Linked DNA regions of Homo sapiens: regions 2, 3, 4, 5 and 6 are each linked to region 1. Evidence: promoter capture Hi-C in 16 types of primary human blood cells and fetal thymus (Javierre and others, 2016). All regions are on one chromosome and are shown on one strand. Each heading gives the region's core, a stretch centred on a gene start or on the middle of the fragment in contact. The rest is flanking DNA. Distances are from core to core; before and after follow the strand shown.

The links. Contacts are between HindIII fragments. The CHiCAGO score rates a contact against its expected background, and 5 or more counts as called.
Region 2: a fragment that was not itself captured here is called in contact with the fragment with the promoter of RPL37A in region 1 in 3 of 17 cell types (fetal thymus, naive CD4 T cells and M1 macrophages); the score reaches 8.7 in fetal thymus.
Region 3: a fragment that was not itself captured here is called in contact with the fragment with the promoter of RPL37A in region 1 in 1 of 17 cell types (total CD4 T cells); the score reaches 5.8 in total CD4 T cells.
Region 4: a fragment that was not itself captured here is called in contact with the fragment with the promoter of RPL37A in region 1 in 1 of 17 cell types (activated CD4 T cells); the score reaches 5.4 in activated CD4 T cells.
Region 5: a fragment that was not itself captured here is called in contact with the fragment with the promoter of RPL37A in region 1 in 1 of 17 cell types (fetal thymus); the score reaches 5.8 in fetal thymus.
Region 6: a fragment that was not itself captured here is called in contact with the fragment with the promoter of RPL37A in region 1 in 1 of 17 cell types (total CD4 T cells); the score reaches 5.3 in total CD4 T cells.

Annotation. Positions count from the first base shown.
Region 1 is chr2:216,497,075-216,500,170 of GRCh38, reverse strand. It overlaps RPL37A (ribosomal protein L37a), which reads right to left and starts at 1,327. Exons shown (of 4, transcript NM_000998.5): 1 at 1,294-1,327; 2 at 773-901; 3 at 140-222. The coding sequence starts at 1,296. RPL37A-DT (RPL37A divergent transcript) reads left to right here and starts at 1,419. Exons shown (of 4, transcript NR_183317.1): 1 at 1,419-1,564. RefSeq lists enhancers at 1,251-1,640, 1,821-1,910. The HindIII fragment of the contact is 3,327 bases long and covers 1-2,503 here.
Region 2 is chr2:217,752,752-217,756,284 of GRCh38, reverse strand. All of the region lies in intron 2 of DIRC3 (disrupted in renal carcinoma 3), which reads left to right. Among named protein-coding and RNA genes, the nearest start is that of DIRC3, 36 kb to the left of the region's middle. The HindIII fragment of the contact is 679 bases long and covers 1,677-2,355 here.
Region 3 is chr2:217,717,714-217,721,222 of GRCh38, reverse strand. All of the region lies in intron 2 of DIRC3 (disrupted in renal carcinoma 3), which reads left to right. Among named protein-coding and RNA genes, the nearest start is that of DIRC3, 71 kb to the left of the region's middle. The HindIII fragment of the contact is 7,326 bases long and covers 1-3,509 here.
Region 4 is chr2:218,222,205-218,225,621 of GRCh38, reverse strand. All of the region lies in intron 2 of ARPC2 (actin related protein 2/3 complex subunit 2), which reads right to left. Among named protein-coding and RNA genes, the nearest start is that of ARPC2, 6.7 kb to the right of the region's middle. RefSeq lists a silencer at 2,753-2,802. The HindIII fragment of the contact is 2,321 bases long and covers 898-3,218 here.
Region 5 is chr2:217,507,910-217,511,149 of GRCh38, reverse strand. The region is part of intron 2 of DIRC3 (disrupted in renal carcinoma 3); the gene reads left to right. Among named protein-coding and RNA genes, the nearest start is that of DIRC3-AS1, 230 kb to the right of the region's middle. RefSeq lists a silencer at 195-284. The HindIII fragment of the contact is 547 bases long and covers 1,108-1,654 here.
Region 6 is chr2:217,771,979-217,775,512 of GRCh38, reverse strand. The region is part of intron 2 of DIRC3 (disrupted in renal carcinoma 3); the gene reads left to right. Among named protein-coding and RNA genes, the nearest start is that of DIRC3, 17 kb to the left of the region's middle. The HindIII fragment of the contact is 656 bases long and covers 1,042-1,697 here.

The DNA.
Region 1 (3,096 bases), core at 78-2,577:
GGAAGAATCCTGAAAATACAAAGGCATCCTTATTCTCTCAGTCCTGAGAAAGTGTTAAAACTAGCCCATCCAGCAGCAACCTGGAATTTGGGCCTATGTGGTCCACACACTTCCAAATACCACAAGGAACTAGACTCACTTGTACGTCCAGGCACCGCCAGCCACTGTCTTCATGCAGGAACCACAGTGCCAGATCCCCACAGCTCGTCTCTTCATCTTGGTCTATAAAAGAGAACCAATTTTCACTATGAACCAAGTAAGTATTTTCTCTTACAAGCATCCAGAAGTCTAAATTTGGATTCACCTTATTGTCAGGGATGTGAAAGCCTCCCTTTCTCCCTCAAAAACAAAACAGGGATTGCTGTAATGCAGTATTTTGCACATAAACGTTCAAACCTTTATCAAACAAAAATCCCTCGCAGAACAAGTAGAATGGTATTAGATGCACAGACATCTTGGGAGTTGGTGCAGAAACATCAGTAGACAAAACTGATGGAATCATTTCCCACAAAGCAGGTTTGGCTTAGGCTGGGGGCACTCTGTCAAATGATTATTTTACCCATTAACGTTTAAGCGGTTTTCTTTAAATGAAAAACGTCTCACAAAATCTGAAGTTACCATCAACACTTTTATCTTAAAACTCATAATCAACGGTATGAGTAATTCCAACTGCCCACCAGCACACGGCTTATAAAATACCTTGAAGTCAGGCCTCACTTGGGTAAGAAACCTGCCCTCCCTCTCCTCTCACCAGAGACTTTGCCTTACTTACTTTGCCACAGAAAGAGCAAGTGTACTTGGCGTGCTGGCTGATTTCAATTTTCTTCACCATTTTCCGGAGGGAGGCCCCATAGCGGGTCCCGTATTTACCGACGATCCCGACTTTCTTGGTACGTTTGGCCTGTTTAGAGTGAAGGGAGAAACCAGTGATAGACCTGGAACCCAGGCAGGCCCTGGAGCCTCCACACACCGTTCCTCCACCTCACTGACGTGTGACCGACATGTGAATTACATATGACCTAGTTTTCCCTAAATTCAACCCAACGAAACCAGTGCCCAGGGCTGGCCGCGCGCTCCGAAGGCCCGGCGTTAACCCGGCTGGAGCGCGCCAGGCCCAGCCAAGGCGCCCCCGCCCCTCCGCCTTGGGGAGCTTCCGACAATGGTGTCTCCTGCAAAGGCATGGAGACAGGAGAGAACACGGGGTAAGGCAGGAGAGGAGATGGGTGCGGGAGAAGAAAACAAGGACAGATGCAGGCAGATAGAGTTCTAGGCCGCACAGAGACCCACACTCACCATGTCGCCGCGACCTAGGTCCGAGCCCAGAAAGGAAGAGACGCGGTGCGCAGGCGCGGTATTAGGCGGACGAGCGGAAGTGGCTGGTAGAGGCCTAGCTAGGAACTGAGCTCTATGGTTTGGGCGTTTTCAGGCGGCCTCCTGAGAAATGTTTGCAATTGTAAGGCGTCTCTCTCATCCAGGTTTACCCAGATTCGCAAACTATGGCGACAAACAACCATAGCAGAAGCATGTCCGGATTATTTCACATATATCACAAAATCCTGCAAAGGTACGAGTTCCTCCATTCGATGCACAGCACTTGGCTTGGAGAAGTGCATAAATCTTACATTTGTGGGGCCGGGCGCGGTGGCTCACGCTTGTGATTCTAACACTTTGGGAGGCGGGGTGGGTCAGGAGTTCGAGACCAGCCTGGCCAGCAGGGTGAAACCCCGTCTCTATTCCAAATCTCATTTATTTCCCCCTCTGCATTATGCTCTCTAAAAGTGGCTGACTGTGCAGGATGCTAGCGACAGTGGTGACTAAAATCCAAGGTTCCATTCCCAGAACAAGTTGCAGGCCAGCTGCAAACGATCATATAGCCACATTAAGAAGTTAGACAGTTTCAAACTGGTCAGAGTTCTGAAGGAAAGGACGATGGTTCTGCTCGCGACTAATTCAGAAGAGCCTGGTGTTTCCTGAGGAAAGTCTGAGATTGGAAGGCTGGGGAAAAGTTAACAGTCACCTTGGAGTTTTGTGTTCCAGCTGCTGCATCTCAGTGCGGATGGCCTGCCTTCCACTTCATTTCAGAACTCACTTCCATGGCCCCACACTAGGCTGTTAAGACAGCTTCCTGGTCCAGGCCTGAACCCTTAAACTCCAACATCTTACCCTTTACCCACCGTCAATTCTCTGTCCCTCCAGGTCTCTCAAAGGGGTCAGCAGGGAAGAATTGGATTTCTGGTTGAGGCCGGGGGTGGGGAGGGTGTGTTCTGGAACTAGACACATGATCTTCTTTCTTCACGTAGAACACACACACTAGGAAGTTTGGTTGCCTTTTTTCAGGGGATGGCTAATCCAGAGAATAAGAAGCTCAGAAAACTACTGGAATAAGAGTGTAAGAGAGAATCCATGATTAGAGGGCCAAGAAAGACCATGGGAGCTGAAAGGCATTGTGTGGCCCTGATTCCAATCAGAAGTCCGGTAACAAGTAGCTTCCGTTCCCAAAGCTTAATATTAACTGTCTCAAATAATTTTGCACCTGTTCACTTTTCCTCACAATTGTATTAAAGTCAACTTGCATACCTGGGCTGAGGTGGGAAGATCATTTGAGCCTGGGAGGTTGAGGCTGCAGTAAGCTGTCATCACGCCACTGCAGTCCAGCCTGGACAACAGAGTGAGACTCTGTCTCAAAAAATATATATGAATCAAATCAAATCAAAGCAACTTGCAAACAGCTATGTACTTCATATGGTTACAATTGTTGGAGGGTAACACATGGTAGGCACTGAGTATTTTATGTGGATGTTCTCATTTAATTTTCCATTATCCTTTATGATAGGAATGATTATTATCTTCATTACTAAGAAAAAGAGAGGAAGTCTCATGTAATGATTAGGAACTTAGAGGCTCTGGATTCAGTATGGGTTCAAAACAGAACTCTGCTATTTACCAGCTGTGGGACCTCTGACAAGTTATTATATACTTTTCTTTCTTTTTTCTTTTTCTTTTTTTTTTTTTTTTTTTTTTTTTTTTGAGACAGAGTCTCTCTTGGAAAAGATTCTTTGAGACCAGGAGTTCTAGGCAGCCTGGACAATATAGCGA
Region 2 (3,533 bases), core at 767-3,266, 1.3 Mb before region 1:
AAAGCAATACTCTTTAATTGGTTTCTAAATATTTGTATTTTTATTTTTTACAAAACTGTATTTCAAAATAATGTGAGTCTTTAAGTCCTATGCAAAGCTACCAGAATCCTTGGTCGTGCTTCCCTACTCATTTGCAGGAATCCGGGCAGAACATGAATTCTCAGAACTGGTGGGACTTTCCAACCAGTTGCTTCTCATGCAGAGGCAGAAAAATGAGGGGATCAACAGCCCAGGCCTCAGGGGCACCCTTCTTGGCCCTTACAGGTAATTTAATTGCTGTGCCTCAGAGTCTCTTCTGTAAAATGGGAATGATAATAGTACCCTAAGTGATAGTATTATTATTAAATATTGGCTGAGTGTTCCCAGCTTTGTCATAATACAGCTCTGTGACCTTGGCCCCTCTCTCAGGACCTTTGTTTCCTCATCAATAACGGGGAATGAAGCACTCATTTTGCGTGGTTGTGATGAACAGGTAGGTTGTTTGTGAAATCACCTGGTGGTACCTAGTAGGTATTAAATACCCATTTCTTTCTTGGATAAGTATTGCTTCCCAGTCAACACTTATCTTCCCTGTTGCCCTGGCCTCAGCAAGGTGACAGTGATAAGTCAACTGATCCCTTTCAGCAGAGACCTCTTCAGGACATCTGCCTTAGATGAAGGAGAGTGTAGGTGTTCAGGAAGCTTGGGGGAGATTGATTTACTTCCTGGAGGGCTTTTTGTTAGTCCTGAAATGTCACTATGTGGTTTGCTGCTTCCTCTGCCTGCGGGTGATGGGGTAGGGGTAGAAGGTGGAGGGGGTGCAGGTGTCTTGTTGGGAGCCCCTGGAAGTCACCTCTTTAGAGGGGCCGTCTCTGAGATACGACGATTCATTTTCTGTTATCCTTATATTTTTGTCTCTACTGCCCCCAACTCCCCCCATGTAAACAGCCTGCTCCTTTGAGATCCCTGCTTTGGGAGACTTGCTGCTGCAGGCCAGGGAGTAGGAATTGCTTTCTTTTCTTTTTTCTTCCTTTCTGGGAGCCTGAGTTCTTTGAGATGTGAGTGCCTTTGAGGGAAGAGTCCCGGAGGCAGAGCACCCTTTTCCCTGTCAATGCCCAGGGTGGGCAGGACCTCAGAGTGGGCTGACAGTGTGATGTGTCTGTGACTAGCTTTCTCTGGCACTGTTTGGCACAGAAGCAGCAGAGCCCCTGGGCTCCTGGGTACTGTGTGGCCTTGCATCAGTTATCTCAGTGTAACCAGTGGGGACAAATGGCCAGTGACCACGCATGCACCCCTTCCAGTGATGCTGGTGAGAGAGAGGATGGGCGGGTTCCATTAATGACCAGGACAAAATTTGCTGTCTCAGGTGGGATGGGGGCTCAGAGATGGATTTAACTTGACTTAAATAATTTTTTTGAAAATTATATTTCTCATATACCTGAAATCGTGGAGTTTGATTTATAGTTGCTATTTCTGAATTTTCCTTAGCACCTGCACAGCGTCTTGTATGCAGCAAGCACTCACTAAGCCCTTCTCCTTACCCTGCCAGTCTACCTATTAGACTAGCCCTGGTGTTCAGGACTTAAAGTAATGGGCCAGCTAGGAGCCTCCAGGGCTGGGTCTCTAGACTGCAGGTGCCATGAGATGGGTACTCCCAACAGTCCAGCCTCAGACACATTGCTCTGCTTGACAAAGCTTTGCAATTCCCATGAGTGACAGCACCAAGAGCTACCATGTCTTGAGAGCTTCTGATCTGCTGGCATGGTGTGAAGCCCTTAGCATGGTATCTCATTAGTTTTCACAGCAGCTCTATAAAGTCCAGACTACATTGTCTCTATTTTGCAGATGAGAAAACTGAGGCTTGGAAAGATGGCAGAGCCAGAATACTATCCCAGGTGGTTGGACACCAGAGTCACTCATTTTAAGCACTTAGGACAAGTGACTGATGGACTGACTGAATAAAGAAGGACAGGAATAATAAAGTTGTCAAATTGGGGAATGGCAAGACAGGATGTATTTATTTCCTGCCTTTGGCACCTGTCTTCAGTGACCCTTTCCCTCCCTTTTCCCCTTAGGCCCCACCCAGAGAGGCTGATTTCCAGTCTGTGGGGTCCAAGGGGGATTGAGGGTCCCCTGTCTGTGCCTTCTGGACCCTCTGGGAGCTCTTGGCTCTTGACTCTGGGCTGGGAGGCTGGAGCCCTATTGCCTTTTCTATCAGGGATGGACAGAGACATTCTTTTTCATTTTCTTTCCCCAATGCCATTTTGTTAAATCAGAAATCCTTGAGGAGTGAAGTCACATTTTCCATGCCCCTGAAAGCTCTGGAGAGCTGATGAGTGTTATTGTAACCAGAGGAGACTGGGGACAAAGGAAGCTTATAATTTTGTAAACGAGGCTTGGGAGTGCCCTGCCTGCAATGGCTTTCCAGAGGGAGAGGCAGAATTCGGAAAAACCAGAGGCAAGAAGAATGGCAGGACTGGCCAGCCTTGAGCCTTGCACCCAGGCAGAGACCCTCCTGCCCCCTTCTCCAGTTACTGTTTCCCAGCCTTCCCTGGGGAAGGAAGTTGGCTTGCTGAAGCGGCAAGATCTCTATGCTTAGAATGAAGCACGTGGGGTCACAGTGCCGGCTCATTCACCTCAGTTTCCTCATCTGCAAAATGGGCTGGTGAAGGATCTGCCCCAAAGAGTCTGCACTCAGCCTGGCGATGGGGCTGTGTTTCATAGAGAAGGAAACTGAGGCATGTGTTTTTCAGATAGGAAGTGGCAGAACCGGGATTTAGATCCCGGCAGTCTTACTCCTGAGTGGGAACTCCCACCCCTTGCTCCACAGCGCTTAGGCTCACCAGAGGCCAAATCATGTGAATCAAATGTGACCCGCGTGCTGCCACCTGGGGTCAGCCCTCTTTGCCCCAGCCTGGAGGGACAGAGGCTTCCGCTGGAAGGTTAGGCTCTTAGGTCTCTTCAAACCTTAACATTCTCGGACCTTCTCCTAGTGGCCAGACTCTGTGACCTACTGCGTGGGAGGGAAGCCTGGGAACAGGTGGCCTATTTCAGCCCCTCTCAAATGAGTTCCAAGCAGGTGGCTGTTGCTTCCTCTTGCTGGCCATGGCTTCTCACTAGGCTTGCACAAAAATGGAGAGAAGACCAAATAAAGCTCCTTTGAGGACAAATGTCTTGGACAGGGCTGGGGGTGGGGATCCAAAGATGGACAGAGCCAACCCCCAACCCTTGCAGGGCTCCGAGCCTGCCTGCTTCCAGGCTGCAGGTCTTCTGTGCAGGCTGGGGTTGGGTGTTCAGGGCTGATGGGGGCAGGCATGTGAGTGATTTGGGGAAAAGGGCTGTGTGGAGGGGATTGGGTCGTTCACACTCAGCCTGGGTCTGTCACTGAGCATGCGCTCCCTTCTCCCTACAATCCTGGCCCTAGTTATCCTACTTCTTTAGCCCTGAAGCCCTAAAGCTGCCCCCTCCAGCAGGTGGCCGAGATTTCCCAGGTGGACTCGGGGGTCCTCCTCACTCAGGCCAAGCTGCCCATGAGGAGCTGCCCATGAGGAGCT
Region 3 (3,509 bases), core at 715-3,214, 1.2 Mb before region 1:
ATATTTTCACTAGGTATAGAATTCCAGTTGATATTTTTTCTTTTGACACATTAAAGATATTGCCCTACAGCCTTCCCTCACATACTGTTTTAAGATGAGACATCTGCTGTCTTTACTTTGGCTCTTTTGTTCATAATGTACCTTTCTTTTGCTGTTTTTTAGATTTTCTCTTAATCACTGGTTTTGAGCAATTTGATTATGAGGTGTGATATTCCTCATATTCTTTTGCTTGGCATTCATTGTGTTTTCCGGGTTTGTGGGTATATAGTTTTCATTAAACTTGGAAAAAAATTTAACCAGTATTTCTTCAAATAATTTTTCTGTTCTCCCTTGCATCTCAAATTTGATGACTGCAATTACACATATATTTGGTTGCTTGAAGTTGTCCCATAGCTCAGTGATACTCTGTTAGTTTTTCTATAATGTCTTTTTATCTTTATGTATCCTCATGGCTAGCTCATATTGCTGAGTCTTCAAGTTTCTTCTGTAATGTCTGATCTCCCATTTATTCTAGTCAGTGTATTTTTCATCTCAGACATTTTAGTTTTCATCTGTAGAAGTCTGACTTGGATCTTTTAAAATATCTTCTACTTAACTTTTTGAACATATACAGATATAATTATAATAACTGTTTCTATTTCCTTGTCTGATAATTCTAACATCCGTGTAGGTTTCAAGTTGGTTTTGGTTAATTGATTTGTCATGATACCATGGGTCATGTTTCTGCCCTTTTCAATACTTGGTAGTTTTTGATTGGGTGGTGTTGGAAGTCACCTCCAATCATTTCTTCACTAGAATCTGAACCACCAATGCAGAGATTGAAATCTAGTAGTCGGAATATGAATCCCATCTGTGGATGTGTTCTGCTCAGCTTGAACAGTGTGTTAAAAAAGATCTCAGATGTTTTTCACACTTAAAAATGGAGAGATATGTGAAACCATGGATTCTGTTAAACATTTTTAAAAAGTCAGGCTATCTTGCAGTATGGCTGCCATTCCCACTGGGAGCGGCTGCTGTCTTTGGATGCCACTGTGAGTTGAATGTGTTCCCCAAGGGTTCATGTGCTGGAAACCTAATCCCCAGTGCAGCAGTGTTGAGAGGTGGGACTTTTAAGAGATGATTAGAGGCAGGGCCCTCATCAATTGATTGTTACCTTGGGAATGGGTTTCTTAAAAAAGGATGAATTTAGCTTCCTTCTCTCTGTCTCTCACACACATGTCATGCCTTCCATCATGTTATCATGCAGCAAGAAGGCCCTCATCAGATGTGGCTCCTTGACCTTGGACTTAGCCACAAGCTAAATAAATTTCTGTTCATTATAAATTACCCAGTGTATGGTATTGCTATAGAAGCATGAAACAAACTAAGATGGGTAGAGTGTGAGGTTTCTATACCTCCTCACAACAGACTCTAGTAGGCATTTTAGTTTGAGCACTCTGTTATTTAAGATCAGTTTTCCAGAAGTAGACCTTGAGATGACTATTAGTGCACAAGTGATTTTTTAACAAAATGATCCTAGGAGAAACTTGAAAGAGAGTGGGGCATGCAGGAAAGAAAAGGGGAAGAAGTCAAGCAAGCATGAAATTTCTGTTATAAACTCATGGAGGATAAACTTTACCTTGATCCTGCAGAGGCATGATAGAATGCAAATTATGCTTCAGAGTTTGTCCCAACTAGATGCAAAGGAGCTGAACTTTCATATTTCCTCCCCAGTCAGAAAGTGCCCTTACACCTGGCAAGGTAGACAAAATAAGAAGGACAAAAGCATTAGGCATCTGCATTACTGTTCCATGTGGGGTCACCTGGGAGCCTCTCATGGTCCTGGCTGAGATGAAGGACAAGAGAAGATGTTGTGCTATTGGATGAAAACTGTGAAAGAGTTGGAAATGCCTTCATCCTCATAACGTCACAGCTTCCTCATCTCCAATGCTTTATTGGTGGGAAGGTCAATTGAGATCATTAGTGGAGACTAATACACAAAGGAATTGGGTGCCACCAGGGGAGGGGACCTACTGGAGGATTGCTACTTCCTCCTGTTGGAGAGCCCTGCTGATGTCACCTTATGCATTCCCTTACTTTAAGGAGAGATCATCCAGATTTAGTATGATTTTCATTCCTAGGAATCTCTAGGAAAGGGAACGTAATTGCCTTCTAGTCATTCATTTATTCACTTATTTGTTTACTCACTCATTTATTCACCCATAAACATTGAGCCAAGCAACATGTTCTGAAGAACTATTTGAATGAGGATATTTTAAGCCATTTATAAAGCAGTGTCTTACCACTGTTTCCTGGCCCACTTCTCCTCTCAAGAGGAAATCACACAGTCTTCTGTCATTGCTCCAAATTCCTTCAAGTGCCACCCACAACTGGAGGCTTCAAACCCATGTTCTTCCATTCTGGGCCTACGGAGGAGAAGTTTTGTGCCTTAAGCTATGGAGGAGTCCTGCATTTGGGCACCTTTCCTTTGATGTATTGATGTAGAGTACTCCCGCTATCTTTGGATCTTCAGTTTCCCTCATGTGAGCTGAAGCCAGCAACGCAGAAAACAAGAGGCTGAGCGCTGGTTATCATGGGCGTCTATGAGGGGGCAAACAGAGGGGAACAAAAGAAACAAAAAGCTCATTGCTAAACCCCTCCAGCCTCCTCAAAGCCTTAGAGTTACGTATACATAACAAATGTTCCTGTTGGGACCCAGAACTGTGAAGGAATGGGCTGGATGGAGACCAAAGGGAGAGACTGGGCTGGGGTTGGGCTGGAGAAGGAGAAAGGCTACTGCTGGTGGTTGGGCAGGTGAAGGTGATGCTGGTCATTGTCCAGCTTTAGGTCTGCTGCTGTGAGCTTATGAACTAGGAGAGTGGCAGAGAGAGGAGAAGAAGGGAGGAAGAAAGAAGGGAGGAAGCAAGAAACGGATAGAGGGGAAGAGTGAAAGAGAGAGAAAAACCATAGAGTGAGGAGAAAGAGACAGAAAGAAAAATAAATCAGAGACAGACAGAATAGAGAAAGAAGAAGCATGACTCTGTGTGTGTGTGTGTGTGTGTGTGTGTGTGTGTGTGTTTGTGTGTGTGCATGTGTGTGTGTGTGTGGTGGGGGGATTGCTGCCCAGGGTCCCTGGTTTGGAAATTCAAGGGGGTTGCAATTCTGGAGTGTGGTGAAATGGCCTCAGGGTCTCAAGAAGCTAACGGCAGGCTCATGCCAGGCCATAATAACAGCCTCTCGGTGGCTCCAACCCACTCTGGCCTCTCAACTCCCAGGAACACTAAATTCACACAGGCGCAAAATGTAACCCTGCTTCAGGCCTCGCAGCCTAATAGCTACCGTTGTGTTTGCACTGCACCCGCAAGCATCACGGGCAATTAAGAAAGTCGTCCATTGCCATCGTGGGCTGCCATTTACGGGTTGGAGCCTGGAGCCCCTCCAGGCCAGTTAGCCCTCTGATGAGACACAAATGAGCAGGGAGGAGTGTTGTTTCCCTGGGAGAAGAACTCCTGCCATTAGCTGGCAGATCC
Region 4 (3,417 bases), core at 809-3,308, 1.7 Mb before region 1:
AACAACATGCTATATACCACAAAATGCCATCTTTTGGTCAATGCCTTCCCCACAGGACAGTGGTATTAGGAGTAAAACGTTCAGCAGGAAAATGGCTAAGTATAATGTAGAATGGTTTTAATATGCTTAAAGAGAAAGGATGATTTCGGGCCATAAACAAAACGGCAAGTTCTATTCCACTTCAAAACCCGTCTGTAAGCCTTCCTACTCATCTTTCTTTCTTCCTTTACATCACCAAAGTACTTACCACTCACCTTCAAGAAACCCTCTTTAGTTCTACCCTAGTTTTGTCTTGCTTTGTAAATTCCAGCTCGGAACTTAAAATAGACAGTGTAACACAAAATAACACTATGAAATCACTAAGAATAGTCAGGACATCTGCTTTACAACTTTAGCTTTCTCATCACGCTCATGTTTTGGGACAAATACCCTTACACCTTTGCATTCTCCCCTATCATCAATAAAATGGGGGAATAAAAATGAACCTATTTACCTCATGGAACTACTACATATAACACAAGAACAGACCTGAAGTCCAAAGTAGGAAGCAAATGAAGACTATTGCCTTACCAGCTAGCTACCTGTAAACTCAATGATTCCACTTTGTTTTAGGGGCTAGCAAACAAGATGCGCATGTTTTCACATTTATTTTTGTCTAACTTGCTCAAGACCTCTTAATCAAGTACGTATCTTTCCACGATCTCTGCTCCATTACCTGCGAAAGAAACGAAGACTAAGTTGCTCTCCAGGGATGCTGGGAAATAATGGAATATATAACATGGTTTATGAGTGTTAAAAAGCTGATATAGAAGCCAGACAATACCTTTCAAAAAAACTGGCTTCTATGAAGCATGCTAGCCCTGCTGAAAAATCAACCTATACGAATCATACAAAGCTTCACCTTGCTTCTTCAAAGCCCTATATGTGACTTAGGAAAAGCGCACTGGGTATCTCTACGAATTGAAGTATCAAGTGGGTTTACGGAGAAGCAGAGAGTTCAGAATAGAAGGAAAAAACTAGATGAAAATTTAAATTGCTTCTGAGCCTTCATTTTGAAACTGTAGCCAGGAAACAAAGGCAACGAGTCCAATACCATTCCTCACCTCTAGAAAACAAGAGCAAAGAACAAAAATATGGAAATGTTAATCATGGACCAACTGAATGAAATATTAAGAGGATGACCAATGGGAGGAAGCATGGAAGCATACTTTCCTGGGGAAGGCTGACTGTGCTGAAGAGTCAGGGAGTTTATAAAAGCCCATTATTACATCACTTAGTAAGTTTTTTTTTAACCTTTAGGTTTTAATTCAGCCAAAGAAGGGCTGAGTTCCTCACTCTCCTACTTTGTCAAAAGACCTGAGAAAAACCAACTATAAATAAATAACCTTTGGGCTCCAAGTCATACACACTTTGAGTCTCTAATTTCAAATTTCTCTAGGCATAAAGTATCCTGAGCACAGATCCTTGTGGGAAAAGTTGCTACGATCGATCTTAAGTGGTCTGCTGTCTGACTTAGCAATATTTGTCAAATCACATTCATTAATATTTTAGTTTACTATTTATGGCTAGAAGAGAGAGAATGGCTGCTGAGGAGAGTATTAGGCCAAAGGAGACTTCATGGGAAGTCTTCTGGGAGTTAGAGGTCCGAGAACTCAGTGCCTTAACGATGAGTTTGCTGAGCGTGAAGTATACCATCACAAGATTGCTTCTCAATTCCAAGACCTGGCGTTTGTTATTTTACTTCTGTGGTTTAAAATTACAAAGGAGCGGGAGGAAGACTGGCCCAGGAAAAGTGTTCCACTAAATAGGCCCCCAGAATTAATAGTTACATTATTTACTGTTCTACCAGCTGCTAAAATTTCAGATGCTGGGGGTGAGAAAAAGCAAGTTATTTAGAATTCAGAATTTATTGGCTATGTGACCACAGGCAATGCTCCTCAAATGTCACCGGGCCTCAGGTTCCTCTTCTACAAAATGGGGACAAAACATCTACCTCCCAGGTTGGTGTGAAGACTGAGATGATATATGTCCAGCAGTACAGCAGTCTCCCCTTATCTGTGGGGGATATGTTCCAAGACACCCAGTGGATAAATAAAAGTGTGGATAGCACTGAACTGTAGCAAAGAAACACCAAGGTCACTTTTTTTACTTAAAGGAATCACTTCATGGGTTCTCTTTGGCATATCCAAATTGCCAGCATCATTACTCCTGTACTTTGGAGCCATTATTAAGTAAAATAAGGGTAACTTGAACACAAGCACTACAATGCTGTGACAGTCAATCTGATAACCTAGACAGCTATTAAGCGACTAACAGAGGGTAGCGTACACACTGTAGATATGCTAGACAAAAAGATGATTCATGTCCTGGGCGGGACAGCGCAAGATTTCATTATGCTACTCAGAATGGTGCACAATTTAAAATTAATGGATTGTTTATTTCTGGGATTTTCCATTTAATATTTTCAGACCATGGTTCACTGCTCACTGCAGGTAACTGAAACTGCAGAAAGCAAAACCACAGATAAGGGGGGACTACTGTACAGCAAAGTTTCTCAAACGGTGTCTTTTAAGTTATAGATATGCTGAGGTAATGATCCCCATATCCCTTAGGGCAGGCAGCAGGTGGCAGGATCTCTGAGAGGCTAGACCATTTACCCAAATGTGCCATACAAATACAATCATGTTCTGTGTGCCATACGATAAACAAGGTCAAGAATCACAGTGAAGGATGCCTGCACGGTGCTTACTTAATATGTAGTAGTTACTTATTCAATATCTACCCCCACCCCCAATCCTCAAGAGCCCTGGTTTTCTCAGTTGTAAATGAGATCCACTATCTGTCACAGAAATGAAATGAAACCATGTTAAGGCATATAGCACAGTGCCTAGCTCATAGAAGGTAATCAATAAATTAGTTCTTCTCCTAGGTGGAGTCAGAGATCGGACTCTGAAGCTGTGGTTGGGAGAGGTTTTAGGATTGCGGTAATTCCCTGAATCAGGAATTGGTTAGCAGTACAAGGAAAAACAGAACTCCTATAAGTGTCAGACTGCTGTAATGTCTGGAATCCTAGAACAAGCCGGCTGGGTAAGTCCTCAGAGTTACTGCCTGGACAACCCAAGACACTAAAACATAATCAATTCATTCAGACAGGTTTTAAGAGCTATTCTTAAAACCCTTTAGAAAAAATTTTCTTCTATCTTTTCTCTAAGGAAGCTTCTAGAATGTCAATAATCAATCCAGAAAGGGCTTCTGGCAACTGTATTATCTCATCTTCTTTTCTCATTAACAACTTTGGGGTTTTTACTCCTGAATGCACCCTAGGATCCAATTCCCCATTTTTTTCTTTTTTCTTGAGATGGGGTCTCGCTCTGTCACCCAGGCTGGAGTGCAGTGGTGCCACCTCTGCTCACTGCA
Region 5 (3,240 bases), core at 132-2,631, 1.0 Mb before region 1:
GCTGGGCTGGCCTGTGGAAAGGGCACTATTTCTGGAGGAGAGGGGGCCGCTTGGCAGCAGGGCTTCAGAGGCGTCTGAGTGGAGGGGAAGAACGAAGAAAGAGTGTCCTACCAAGCAAAAGTGGATCTCAAAGCTCAGAAGGCACACCAACCCCTCCCCCACAAAAGCTGCTGTCAGTGAAGAAACTACACTTTCCCATGCCAACAGAAGAGGGTGCTCTTGAACTAAGAAACATGGTCAGTCATCAAACGCCATGACTGCGCCTATCTACAACTGTATATTTAAACATCTAAAAATGAATAGAAAATGGCAGACGACACTCATACAAGGCCAATAACTTAAAAAAAAAAAACAGGAATTAAAACATTCCAGCAGATGAAAATGCTTCTACCGAAATCAAATATGAGGTGGAAGAAAACTGTAACAGAACACCCACACTGAATTGAATATCCTAAAACAAGCATGTGAAGATAGAAAACAAAAACCTTAAATCAGAAGTTTTAAGCTTTATAAAAGAAATACGACCAAAAAACCCTATTATTTTGTGAAAAACCCTATTTTTCAGGAAAATGCGAAATAAGAATTGAGTGAACTCAGGAAAGATATGGAAGGAAAAGACAAAATCATCTTAAAAATAAAGGCCAAGTTATAAAGTACCCATGGAAAAAGAGATTTGACTGAAAATATGAAACAGTGAGGAAAGCCATGAAAAAAGGGAATAAAAATAAAATAAGGAACAAAGCAAAAGAGATCAGAGAGAAAATAATTGATAGAAGAAGGCCATTACAATAGAAAACCACTAGTATTTAAAACCACAGACTAAGAGAAATGTCTGAAATTAAAAGAAAACTTGAATCTGCATCTTTAAAGGCTCCTCAGTATCCCTGGGAAAATAAACCTGGAATGGTGAAGTCCAAGACATATACTAGGAAAATATTGTAATTTAAAGATAAAGAAAAAATTTTTCTAGATCTCCAGGCAAAAGTATCAAATCACTTACATAGGAAAGAAAATCGGACTTCTCATCTAAAGTAAAAGAATAACACAGTCACATCTTCAGGAAACTAAAGGAACTGTGGAATAGCTTTTATGTAGATGAGCTAAGCTTCAAGTATCAAGCGATTTTCTATGTGCAGAACCCCAGAGAACACTGCAATCACTATCCAACTTTAATGGTCCTACTATAGAAAAAACATCATTTAACCAAGATAGGACCTGGACCTGAAGAACTCTGGAAAATGGACTGTGTGAGCATTGAATATATTTCAATGTAAATCTGTAACTTAAACAAGGACAGAGTCATGGGGGGAAGAACAGTTCAACTGTTATATGTGGTGACAAAACTGAAGTGACCTATTGTTGCATAGACAATAGGTGGGAATGAAGAATATAATTTGAAGCAAATAAAACACTAAGTAGCAGAGTAAATGTGAGAAAAGAGACTAAGGGCATTATAATAGGTAGTGGCAAAAAGGTAAGCACTGCAACAAAGATATTAATCTTCCTAGATATCAAAAAATAAATATCACATGAAATAAACCACACTGAGAAAGAAAAATTATATACATAATTTTACACAGAATACAAGTTGAGACCATGTACATCAGTCATATTACTAAATTATATTTATTATATTATAATTTATTGATAAGCTTATTAATAAATTACATAAATCCCCAATTAAAAATATTTTCAAATTGACTCATACAGCAAAACTCAATTCTGTGAGATACATTTGAGACACACCTACAATAAAGTGATTCAGAAAGACTAAGAATAAAGAGGTATTCCAGACAAATGGAAACCGTAAAATAAAGACACTCAAATCTAATCAACATAATTCATAAGGTAGACATTATAGATATATATGAAACCTCCACTCTTGCTAATATTGGGAATATACTCTCTTCTTAAGCACAAATAGAATGTTCACAGAAATTGACCTCATGTTGAGTAACTGTCTTCCTCTAGGCTGCTATAGCAGAATATCAGAGACTGGGTGGCTTAGAAACAACAAAAGTTTACTTCTCACAGTTTTAGAGACTAAGAAGTCTAAGATCAAGGTGCCAGCAGATTTGGTGTCTGTTGAAGACCTACCTCCTCATTCATAGACAACACCTTCTTGCTGTGTCCTCACATAGTGACAGGGACTAGCTAGCTCTCTGGGGTCTCTTTTATAAGGGCACTAATCCCACTTATAAGGGTAGATATCTGATGGCCTGATCACCTCCCAAAGGCCCCACCTCCTAATGCCACCACCTTGGGAATTAGGATTTCAATTCAATGTGAATTTTAGGGGGACATAAGCATTCAGCCCATTGTAGTCACAAAGAAAGTTTTTGAGTGAGTTCCATGAAGTAGAAATTAATGAGAAAATTTAAAAACGTTCTTCTACTTGGAAATTAACATCTGTTAGATGACTATTGGGTGAAAAAGGATATACAAACTAAAATTGCAGAATTTCAAAAAACAATAATAGAATAAAAATATGCACATCTGATTTAATGAGAAATAAAGCAGTGATCTGAGGATAATCTGTGGGATTAAATATTTGAATCAATAAAAAATAATTACAATAAATAAATTTTATTCCCAACTTAAAAACCGAGAAAAATTACAAAGTAAATAAAAAGAAAGTATAAAGCAGGAAATAATAAGGATAAAAGAGGAAATTAATGTAATACAAAAGAGTAAAAAAAGAACTAATTAATGATTCGAAATGCTGGTTGATATGGTTTGGCTGTGTCCCCACCCAAATCTCATCTTGAATTGTAGTTCCCATAATCCCCTTGTGTTGTGGGAGGGACCTGGTGGAAGGTAATTGAATCATGGGGGCAGTTACCTCTATGCTGTTCTCATAGTAGTGAGTGAGTTCTCACGAGATCTGATGGTTGTATAAGTGGCTATTTTCTCCCTCTTCGTTCTGTACTTCTCCTTGCTGCCATCATGTGAAGAAGGATGTGTTTGCTTCCCCTTCCATCATGATTGTAAATTTCCTGAGGCCTCCCCAGCCCTGTGGAACTGTGAGTCAATGAAACCTCTTTTCATTTATAAATTACCCAGTCTCTGGTATGTCCTTATAGCACTATGAGAATGGACTAACACATGGGTTCTTTGGGGAAAAAAGGAAAAACAATATACTGATAACTAACCTAATCAAGAAAAAAAGGCAAAGAGCAAATATACAAAATAAGAAAAGACTAGAAGGAAATAATCATTATAAAAAGGAAAATAAATCAC
Region 6 (3,534 bases), core at 120-2,619, 1.3 Mb before region 1:
ACTCCCACCTTTCCCAGCCTCTGGTAACTATCATTCTACTTCCTACTTCCATGAGATCAATGTTTTAGCTTCCACATATCAGTAAGAACATGCAATATTTGTCTTTCTGTGTCTGGCTTTTTTCACTTAACATAATGACCTCCATTCTATCCACGTTGCTGAAAATGACACTATTTCATCATTTTTAATGACTGAATAGTATTCCATTGTGTATACAGACACCACATTTTCTTTATCTGTGCATCCTTTGAAGAATACTTAGGATGATTCCATATCTTGGCTCTTTGAATAGTGCTGCAATAAACATGGGGGTCCATGTATCCCTTTGATATACTGATTTCCTCTCTTTTGGTTAAATACCCAGTAGTGGGATTGCTGTTTTGTGTCACTGTTCTATTTTCAATTTTTTGAAAAACCTTCAAACTGTTTTCCATAATGGCTGTACTAATTTACATCCCCACCCACCAAAATGGATGAGTTCCATTTTCCCTGCATTCTTGCCAGCATTTGTTATTTCTTGTCTTTTTTGTAATAGCCATTCTAACTGGAGTGAGATGATACCTTATTGTGGTTTTGGTTTGCATTTTCCTAATGATAGTGGTGTTAGTTTAGTTCTTGATATGCACACATTCTACCAACGATGTCTATCTTAAGCTTACTAATGAGTAAGGAAGGACTAAAAGGAAAAAGAACAATGGATTTTCCTACTTCTCCCTTTCCTTCTATGCCATCATTTTTAGCCCAAATGGTTGGCTCACAAAGGAAAATAACATGAGTAAAAAAGAATATGATAGGATTCCTTGGTTGTTTGTGTCATTTGGAACACCATTTCCCTTTTTCTGAGTTCACAGCAGGTTCTGGTTCAAATAGAAAGCCTGGCCTACAAGGGCTATCAGTGCCCTGTTTGCCTAGTCATGGATGTTATACACTTACCTGCACTCCCTTTGATTCTCAAGTATTGTGCATCCACTGGATTATGTGCTCATGTGGCATTGCCAACAGCTCCATGTGCATAAAGCAGCAAGGATTAGCCAACAAGCTTATTTAGCATATCTGCTCACAAGCAGGCTCTATTGGTCCACTGGATTTCATTTAGACAACACAAGTTCAAAGGCAAAGTCATTAAGAATTTCACAACGTCGATAGCAGAACATTGAACTAGACATGGAGCCCTTTAAGTTCAGGGCCCTATGCAGCAGCACAGATCTCATGCCCACTAAGCTGATCTGGAGCTTCCTCATCCCAGGCGCATTATTCAGATGGAATTTTAACTTTCTATTTTAAAGTCTTGTTTGCTTGTGATTCTCTTTTCTATGATACATTTCTGTTCCTTAATGATCAGTTTTAGAGATTATCCAGCCATTTCCTGCTGTGACAGATGAGAATTAACTCACTTAAGCTCTTCCTTTCACCTACTGCTTTAGGAACTTTATATAAACATATTTTTATTTCTTGCACACAAATTATAAAAATATATCTTGAGTCCCCATTTTGTACATTTGAGGCTATTCAGGTTCATTTCCTTTACCTATTCTCTCCCTGTTCATATTCATGTTTTTTAATGTGTGCTTTTACTTAAACTGTATTCATTAGGCTATTAATAGGTGCTGAAACAAGTTTCAAACACAATAAAACTTTACTGATTGCTCACAAAACAGCACTGGCAAGCCATTCATTGATTTAGTCTGATGGAAGCTTTATGAATACAACCAAAAATCAATGCAGTTTCCATGGTAAGCATCTGCCTTTTGCCAAGCTGGAAAGGGCAAAGAGCATGGACCAGGGTACATGGGAGAGGTTTATGGACCAGGCCTGGAAGTGGCACTTGTCACTTCTCTCTCATTTCATTGGCTAGAACTGAGTTACATGGATACATTTTATTGCAAGGGAGTTTGGGAAATATAGTCCACTCAAGTGCCCAGGAAAAAGAGGAAAATAATTTTGGTTAAAAACTAGCAGTCTTTATCACTCTTATACTGTCAAATTAATAGCCTTTATATTCTCTTTGGTGATTTATTTATAGGTTGATTCTAAAAGCTGAAAATCAATATCCAGGTTCACATGAACAAAACTGCATGGTCCAGATTTTGGTACAGAGCAAAACCCACTCTAGCTAGTTTGAGAAGAAAGATGTTACGGTCCGAATGTGTCTTCCCAATATACCTAGGTTGCAATCTAATCCCCAGTGGGATGATACTAGGAGGAGAGGGCTTTGGGTGGTGTATTAGTCAGTTCTTGCACTGCTATAAAGAAATACCTGAAACTAGATAATTTATAATGAAAAGAGGCTTAATTGATTCAGTTCCACAGGCTGTACAGAAAGCATGGCTGGGGAGGCCTCAGGAAACTTACAAATGGTGGAAGGTGAAGGGGAGCAGGCATGTCTTATGTGGCTGGAGCAGGAGGAAGACAGCAAAGAGGGAGGTGCTACACACTTTTAAAAAAACAGATCTCATAAGAACTCACTCACTATCAAAGAGAATAGCAAGGGGGAAATCTGCCCCCATGATCCAATCAACTCCCACGAGGTTCCTCCTTCAACATTGGGGATTATAATTTGACATGAGATTTGGGTGGGAATACAACCCAAACCATATCAGGTGGTGACTAGGTCATGAGGGTAGAGCCCTCATTAATGGGTTTAGCACCCTTACAAAAAGAGGCCCCAGAGAGCTACCTTGCCCCTTTCACCATGTGAGGACACAGGAAGAAGGCACTGTCTGTGAACCAAGAAGTGGGCCCTCCCCATACACTGAATCTACTGGTGCCTTGATCTTGAACTTCCTAGCCTCCAGAGCTGTGAGAAATAAATTTCTGTTGTTATAAGCTACCCAGTCTATGGTATTTCATTATAGCACACCCAACTGACCAAGACAGAGGAATTTATTAAGTAGATTTCAACATTATCAGGAGGACTGAAAAAAGAGACTCTAGGTTGAGATTTTAGAAACCATTTCAGAAATAGTCCCTGTGACTCTTCCGCAGTCAGGGAGCTGCTATCTCAAAAATCACAATGCCAATCTGTGAATAGGGAGTTATTTTGACGAGGAAGTCATCATGGCTACTGTCTCTGGAATCATGCAGAGCTGCTCTGAAATGACCAGCAGGATGGGTGCTCCAATCCCTGCCTCAGCAGTCCTGAAGCTTGTGGCTAGATACTTGGACCTCTGTTAATGTTGCCACAGAAAAGCCAGCAATTCCACAGGATGCCAGCAGGAAACAGCACAAGCAGTAGAAACGTCACCTCCACCTTTGCCTCACGTTAGACTTCAAAAACCTTGAATGAATCTAGTTGGCAGCATATAAATTACATCTAAAACTCTAGCTACAATGGAATCTGGAAAATGTAGTTCTTAGTTTTCTAGGTTCTTCCATTCAGAAAAGCATACTAGAGAGAAGATGGGATGGAGACTGAGTGTCAACCCACCATAATGATTAAACTCCATTCCTTGGACTAACCATATTCTTTTATCCATGCTTAAACTGACAAACAACATTGATAACAACAAAAACATTTTCCCTTTTAATATAATA